Linked DNA regions of Homo sapiens: region 1 is linked to region 2. Evidence: promoter capture Hi-C in 16 types of primary human blood cells and fetal thymus (Javierre and others, 2016). All regions are on one chromosome and are shown on one strand. The core of a region is centred on a gene start or on the middle of the fragment in contact, and the rest is flanking DNA. Distances in the headings are between cores, read along the strand shown.

Evidence for each region. Contacts are between HindIII fragments. The CHiCAGO score rates a contact against its expected background, and 5 or more counts as called.
Region 1: a contact is called between a fragment that was not itself captured here and the fragment with the promoter of TRIM32 in region 2, in 2 of 17 cell types (M0 macrophages and M2 macrophages). The highest score is 6.7, in M0 macrophages.

What each region holds. Positions count from the first base shown.
Region 1 is chr9:115,587,038-115,590,785 of GRCh38, forward strand. No RefSeq gene overlaps it. Among named protein-coding and RNA genes, the nearest start is that of LINC00474, 340 kb to the right of the region's middle. The HindIII fragment of the contact is 249 bases long and covers 1,806-2,054 here.
Region 2 is chr9:116,685,951-116,689,827 of GRCh38, forward strand. TRIM32 (tripartite motif containing 32) reads left to right here and starts at 1,355. Exons shown (of 2, transcript NM_012210.4): 1 at 1,355-1,431. All of the region lies in intron 16 of ASTN2 (astrotactin 2), which reads right to left. RefSeq lists enhancers at 1,022-1,341, 1,782-1,831 and a silencer at 1,412-1,611. The HindIII fragment of the contact is 17,529 bases long and covers 1-3,877 here.

The sequences.
Region 1 (3,748 bases), core at 680-3,179, 1.1 Mb before region 2:
ATTGATAACTAAAATGAACATATTTCTAGATAAATATAATTCACTTAAATTGACTCAATAAGAAACAGGAAGTTTGAATCACTCTGTACCATTCAGGAAAAATTAAATAAATAATTGAAAGTCTTCCAAAAAATACCTTCAGGACACTGAGGGAACCAAAGCTGAAAGAGAATACCAAAATCACTAATATAAAGATTTTTTTAAAGTGTATAAATTGGACTGTACATAAACCCTAAAACTTCTCCTGTGGAGCTCTATATTCTCCTTTATTCCTTATCTTCTCTCTGTTGGCGGTCTCCTAGGTTCTATAGTAGGAGTCAGCAAACTTTTTTAGTAACAAGAGGTGATAACAGATATTTTAGGTTTTGTAAGCCACATAGTCTTTGCTGCAGCTACTCAGCTCTGCTGTTGTAGTGCAAAAGCAGCCATAGACAATACATAAATAAATGGATTTATGTTCCAATAAAATTTGTTTCAATAACTTGTGTGTGCTAATAAAACTTTATTTATAAAAGCAGACAGTGGGCTGAATTTTGCCTTTGGGCTATAGTTTGCTGATTCCTGTTCTAGGGCAATAGTTCTTCATCTGCTGTAATTTGGAAAATCTGAGGATCTTTAAAAAACACTGACGATGTTTGGCTCCTACTCCCAGATTCTCTGATTTAATTAGTATGGCATAGGAGCTGGGCATCAGAGTTTTGTATTGTCTTGCTTTGTTTTTTTAAGTTACCAACTTTACCCTAACATGCAGCAAAATCTAATGTGATAGCAGAGACACGAGGTGGAATGAACCAGGGAATTTATTAACTGCTGAGAATAGAGTCCCTGTTGCCAAATTTCATTCAGCTATGGTGGCAGCAAGAAATATACTTTTATTGTGAAAAGTCTTTGGGACACTGAGGTGGTTTGATACAGAATTACTCCGACTAATACATTAATTGGTAAATGGCAGTATTGCCACAGAAAATAAATATGTGTCTTTGGCTTTGTGGTTGGTCAGCTAGAAAAATGATATCAGAGGCTGTGTAGATAACAGACCATATTATGTGGTACAAGAGCATTTGGTAAAAGAGTTGCATGCCATAAGGTGTAAAGCAGACCATTCACTTGGAGAAATATAGCTTTAAGGTACACAGTTGGAAAAAAAAAAAAAACAACAGAGTGGGTATAGCTTGCTTTTTTTTTTTTTTTTTTTTTTTTTTTTTTAAGATGGCTTCTCACTCTGTTGCCATGCAGTGGTGTGATCTGTGATCTTGGCTCACTGCAACCTCCGCTTCTCAGGTTCAAGTGATTCTTGTGCCTCAGCCTCCTGAGTAACTGGGATTACTGGCATGCACCACCATGCCTGGCTAATTTTTTGTATTTTTAGTAGAGACAGGGTCTCACCATATCAGCCAGCCTGGTCTTGAACTCTTGATTTCAGGTGATCCGCTCACCTCAGCCTCCCAAAGTGTTGGGACTACAGGAATGGGCCACGGTGCCCAGCCTATCTTGCCTTCTTTTGGCTGACATTGACAAGGGATAAAGGAAAGAGATGAGCTCCATAAAGAATTTCCCAGTTTGGAACCTCAAATGCAAGATAATTAAAAAGATTCCAGAAATTTGTGGCATTAAATGTTTAGAAAAACCTACTGCTTCTAGGTCTCAAACAGTGAAAGATGAGAAGGTAAATAAATAAATAAATAAATAATTTTTAAAAAGCTATTTACATAGCAAGAATTCAATAAGTAGTCTGAATAACAAAAGGAAAAGTAATTTGGCCCTTCAGTAAAGATAATTCTGAAAAGAGCTACAGTTATCTCTCAAGCTTACTATTCCAGATAACTTCAAGGTTGCTGTCAACACATAAAGATGGGACATGAGGAAGCCTATGAGGAGGATGCAAAAAAAAAAAAAAAAATTTAAAAACTCTATCTGGGACAGAATGTTGGGTGTATTCACTAGTACATGAAACTGATTGGAATCAAATAAATCATAAGCCCACAATATTTTTGAGGAAACAATATTGCCATGAAAGCATCATCCCAGTTCAAAACCCTGCAAGGGCTTGGCAAAGCTTAGAACAACTTTTGGATTGGATATAGGCTGCAAAGTATAAGTAGCCCCCAAGGAAGGCATTCCCAAAGGTCCACTTCAATTGTGGCATAGGAGTGTAATGGATAGGAGAGAACGTCTGAGTTTGCAGCCAAGAGCCACTGAAAACAATGAGTGCCCAAAGAAGTATTGTTCAGAGAACAAAATCAGGGCTTATCCATGAACTTTCTCTCTTCTCCATAGAGGACCTTCACAATGTCTCCCCAGCGAGATTTCAAACTTGCATTAGTCCAGTAACTGCTGTGTGTCTCCTATTTACCTCTTTTCTGAATAGTTACCCAGAACCTGAGAACTCATGTTGTGAACTGATGGAGAAAACTATGCATCAGTGAAGTATCTTGGACCTTGAGCTAGATGAGGTGACTTAGTGGGACTTTGGCTTATTTCTCCTGGGAACAAGCTGAGTGTATTCTATGTATGGGAAGAATAGTAAAATGGATATTCAGTAACCAGAGCTGAGGACTGAAGTAGAAACAATGTGACGTGTTGCCTAAAACATGCTACATGGTTCCTTTTTCTTCTGGAGACAGCTAGACTATGTTTCTCAACTCTCATTGCAATGAACAGACCAAAGAAATATGAGTGGAAGTTATAAATGCTACTTCCAAGTCTGGCTTCTAAAATCTCCTGTGTGATACTTCACATGCTCTTTTTCTCATCCTCTGCAGCTGAATGAAATGAATATAGAGGAGAACTGAAAGGCCATGGAGGATCTGAGCCACTACATGGAAAGAGCAAGGGTCCATGAATGACAGCTTGAAACAGGGTCCCTCTCTGCTGCCAACCTGCATGGATGGAGACATGAATAAGAAATAAGCACTACTGAGTCAAGACAGAGAGATCTGAAGGTTGATTGTTATAGCAGTTGGACTTCCCTATTATCTAATATACTGTGCTATCTTCCAATGCTTAGCTAGTAAGGGGGGCTCTAGGGATACCAGTTAAAGAACTCTGGAATGCATCCCTTGCAAGTCTGAGATATGAAAGGCCACAATTAGGTCATGTTAAGAAATCTAAAGCTGACTGTAGACTGAAGTCTGGCTTCAGTAAATATGAAAGAGAAAAGAAGAGCTGACTAACTGCTTTGAATTAGAGCCAGGAGAGACTGTTGCATTGCTACTGACCTGCAGTTAGAAAGTTCATCAGGGCAAGGAGCCAGTGATTGTTTCCCAGGGAACATGTGTGGGCCAATGATACAGAGCTCACTGGAGTCTTGGTTGGTTTTGTCCAGTAGGTCTGCCTGGAGGGAGAAGGAAAACTTACAAAAGGAGACTGGGGGTATACTTGTGTGTGAAGGCCCAGATAATGAGGACAGATCCCCAGAGACCTCCTAGAATAGCTAGAAAAGCCTGGGGTCAAAGAAGCTGCAGGGGAGGAGTGTCCAACATGAAACCTCTGAGGAGTTCAGGGAAACACCCCAAGAGAAAGGAAGTCAGCTTTAATCTTCGGCAGGGCCTAGAGAGTGAGAAGTCAATCAGGAATAATAAATGACCCATCTCCTTGTCCCCTGTACCCTTTGAACCAGAGGGGAGCAAAACAGAAGCTAGCTAATGAAAGATGTGTTATAGAATTCAGGGTAACTGAGGTTATGCTGCAGAAGCAAATAACAAAAAGATCTCGAGGACTTCTTGTTTAAGTTCTTTTTTTCTTCACA
Region 2 (3,877 bases), core at 105-2,604:
CTGTGGTTTTCAGGAAAAAAAAAAATTTTAAACGGGTGCAAAGTCTCCCCAACTGGTCTAAGTGAGAAATCATTTGGCATTACCTCTCCCTTATCCCCTACCTGCTAATTACAATTTTTCAAATATAGTTATCATTAAGTGCAAACTACCATAATCTTGGCTTATCTTCATGGCAAACTTCAATTAGAAATTTAGAAAATGGGGAGAAAGAGTAAACAAGGTTAAGAGAGTGGGTTCTCAGATAGAATTGGGTACAAATTTGGGCTCCAACACTTAGGTATATGTGGCCTTGTGTAACCACCTAGGTTACACAACAGGTGTAGGTTAACCATCAGCTGCCTTATCTCATTAGGTCCTTATGAGGATTTAGTGAGCTATGCACCTGAAGTCCTCAGCTGTAGCCAGACAGCAAGTGTTCAAAGATGTTAGTCATTGTTTTTGTTTATTGTTTTATCATTGTGCAGGGTCACATAGCTAAGGGGAATTTCAAATCCAAGTCCATCCTACTTCAAACTCCTTTGTGCTCCTAAGCTGTACAGTATAGTCACCTTGGAGAGTAGGTGATTGGCCCCAAACTACTTCAGGGACTGCAGGTCGTGGCCAGCCAGTCCTGTATCAGACCTCGTCCTTGCCAGATGCCTAGTGCCCCAGATTCCCTCAAATCTCAGGCCAGATCACCTCCCACCTGGTAAGATTCCTCCACCTTCACCCGAGCAAAACTACACTTGGTTTGGGTTCCCGGGTACCTTCAGTCTGCAGGGACAGGGGCTGCAGAGTGTACTCCCCAAGTCTGCCTCTGCTGTCGGCCTCCCAGCTGAGTAGGCAAAACATTCCTTTACAGAGCAATGTGTTCATGGATAAACTTGTCTCTAGTGCAGCTCTCTGTCAGAGCACAGAACATGAGGCCAAAGCACTGCCCTTCCTAGGGAGTCCCGGTTCTCGACTTCCCCAGAATGGAAGTTTGATTTTTCCGTTGGCCCATTTCTCAGATGGAAAAACAGATTCAGTAAGGTGCCAACGCTTTGCTGAGGACTACCCTGGAGGCTACCGTTTTGTGAAGGGGTAGACATTGAGACTGGAGTCAGATACGCATTCTGGCTTATCTCCTGACTTACTGAGTGAACTTGAGCAGGTCCCTTTCGCCCATGGGCGTCGGTTTCTTCATCTGCACCAAGGAGACGGAAAACTGGATTACGTGTCGCTAAGGCCCCGGGTTCTCAGAGGAAAGCTCACCCCTGCAGGGCCGCCTTGCCCCGCGCGCTTGGGGCCAGCTGCACGACAAGCCCCAGCATGCTGGGGAGGCGGGGCTCAGTGACGGACAGGGAGCTCTGCGAATTGGCGCCCGGCAAGGGGTGCTCAACGGCGCGTGCGCAGAGGGAGGCAGGCGGGTGGGCTGCCGGCGGTGGACTCGTCGGAGCCGCGGGCGGTCAGGTAGGGGGCGGGAAGGAGGGTTGGGGACTGGGGACCGCGGCCGGAGTCGTGGGCCGTGGCTCAGCGGCCAGGCGGGGGAACGTGCCGGCGTGCAGCGGCCGCGCCCGAATGGCAGGGTGTGGGGACCGGATCTGGGGGGGGCAGGACTAGGGTGGGGGTGGGGCTGCGAGGGGCAGGCTCGGGAGGGATTCGTGGGGCTGAGGAGATCCGAGGAGATGCAGCTGGGGGAGGGGAGCGAGGGGCTCTGAAGAGATTTGCGGTTGCAGCATCTCGGGAGGTATGAGGTAATGTCGGGGCCCTGAGGAGGAACGGGGTGTAGCATGTGGGAGATGGGAGGGAATCAGGGCCCTGGAGGGACCTGGGTGCAGAATTTCAGAAATATGAAGGAACTGGGGGGCCCCGATGAGATTTGAGGAAATCTGGGGGCGCTAGGCATCTGGCAAGGACAGGGTCTGAGATGATAGGAGCAAGGTCTAGGGCGATCCTAAGTGCTATTGAGAAAGGGTTTTCGGAGTGGGCTGAGGGTGAGATTGAGGGGGTGGGGTGAGTTCTTGAGGGACTCTATCTTGTTAGCAGAAAGAAGGGAGCTGGCTGAGGTGTGAAGGCAGCACATGACATTCAGTGCATAAGAGGAAGGAGCAGGGTATGAGGGCAGCACAGTGCCCGATGGAATGCAGGAGATGGGGGCTCAGATTGAGGGAGAGCAGAAATCTGGGGTGAGGAATTGGGGCGTTGAACTGAGGTGCGGGGCTGAGTGTGGCAGAGATTTGGAAATAGGGATTAAACGATCTGAGTCCGAGGGATTTGGGGCATATGAGTGAGGAATTGACGAGGGTTGCAATATACAGCCCCAAAGATTGGAATTTGGAATTGTAAGAGGGTTGGGGACAGGGTTTGGAGAGGATTGAATCGTGGGGTGGAGATGTCCTAACTGGGCTATAAAATCAAAGGACCCTGAGTAGATTTGTGGATTGGTGTCTTGGGCTGCTAAAGAGATTTTCCTTAAATCGCTGCATGGGAGACAGAGGGAGTTCAGGGGACCCAAGGACCTAAAAGTAATGTATGAAACTGGATGAGTATATGAAGATGAGCAGAGTTCAGGTGCTGAGGAACAAAGTGATAAATCTTCAGTTCAGATAATCCTGAAGGAGTGTGGTAATCCCTGTGAAGGGCAGAATCTTCTTCATTTATTAAACAAAGATCCGTTATCATGAGGCAGGTATGGTATTGCCACTAACTCCATTCTGACCACCGGTCCCCCGGCCCACTGAAAGTGGTAGGCTTTGGGGAAGAAGAAGTGGAACTATTCAAGGTCATCTGCCTAAGCCCTTTTTCCCTGTACCCCCAAGCTACGATAGCAGATAGAAAGTGAGACCTCCAGGGGAATGAGTGGAATAATTTATCCTATATAAGATCCATTACAGCTTGAAGGGGCAGTGGCTCTGTGAGTGAGGTGTTTGGGCTCGGAGACAGACAAAACAACAACAACAACCACCAGAAAAAAAAAAGGGAACCCTTAGGTATTGAGCATTTAGTCCTGTGCTAGACTGTAAAGCAGTGGTTCTTAACCAAGTCTGGCTTTGTCTCCTAGGAGACATTAGGCAATGTCTGGAGATGTTTTTTGGTTGTCACAGGGTGGGGGATACTACTGGCCTCAAGTGGGTAGATTAAACATTAAACATAATGTTTTATGTTAAACATTTGACAATGTGTGGGATACGCCCTTCCCCCCCGCAGTAAGGAATTATCCTGCCTAAAATGTCAGTAATGCCAAAGTTGAGGCACTCTGACCTAGAGTCAGATACCCTGGGTTCAAGTCCTAGCTCTATCTCTTCCTGACTTTAAGTCCTAGCTCTATCTCTTCCTGACTTTGTGGCCTTGAATGAGTTACTTAACCACCCAGTGCCTTGGCTCTTCATCTGTAAAATGGGGTTATGATAACAAGACCAATGTCACAGAATTGTTGTGAGGATTTAGTGAAGTAAACTAGCATGCCTAGGATCTGGCACATAGTAAGTTCTCAAAATCTAGTAATTTTTAGTCTTGTATCTACTTCTTTACTCAGTTTTCATGACAGTCCTTCTAAGTAGGCTCTACTGTATTCAGTTTTACACATGAGGAAACTAAGGCTTAGGAAGTGACTTGCCTAAGTTTCCATAGCTAGGAATGACACAGTTAAGCTCATACCCAGATCTCTGTAACTCCGTATATTCCCGCTTTCCTTGCTTCTTCCTTGCTAGGGCCTGCTTAGTCTTATTTTCTCAGCCCATTCCCCTCTAATGAAAAAGAGGATTGCCAGTGAGTATCACTGACTATCAGATTGAACTCTAAAGTTGGGGGGTAAATCTCTCTGATTAGGTAGGGAGGAGCCCTGGACTTTGTTCTTGGTTTGCCCTTAGACCAAGACCTGGGGCTAGATAAGGAGAGGAGCCTGAGGTTATCAGGC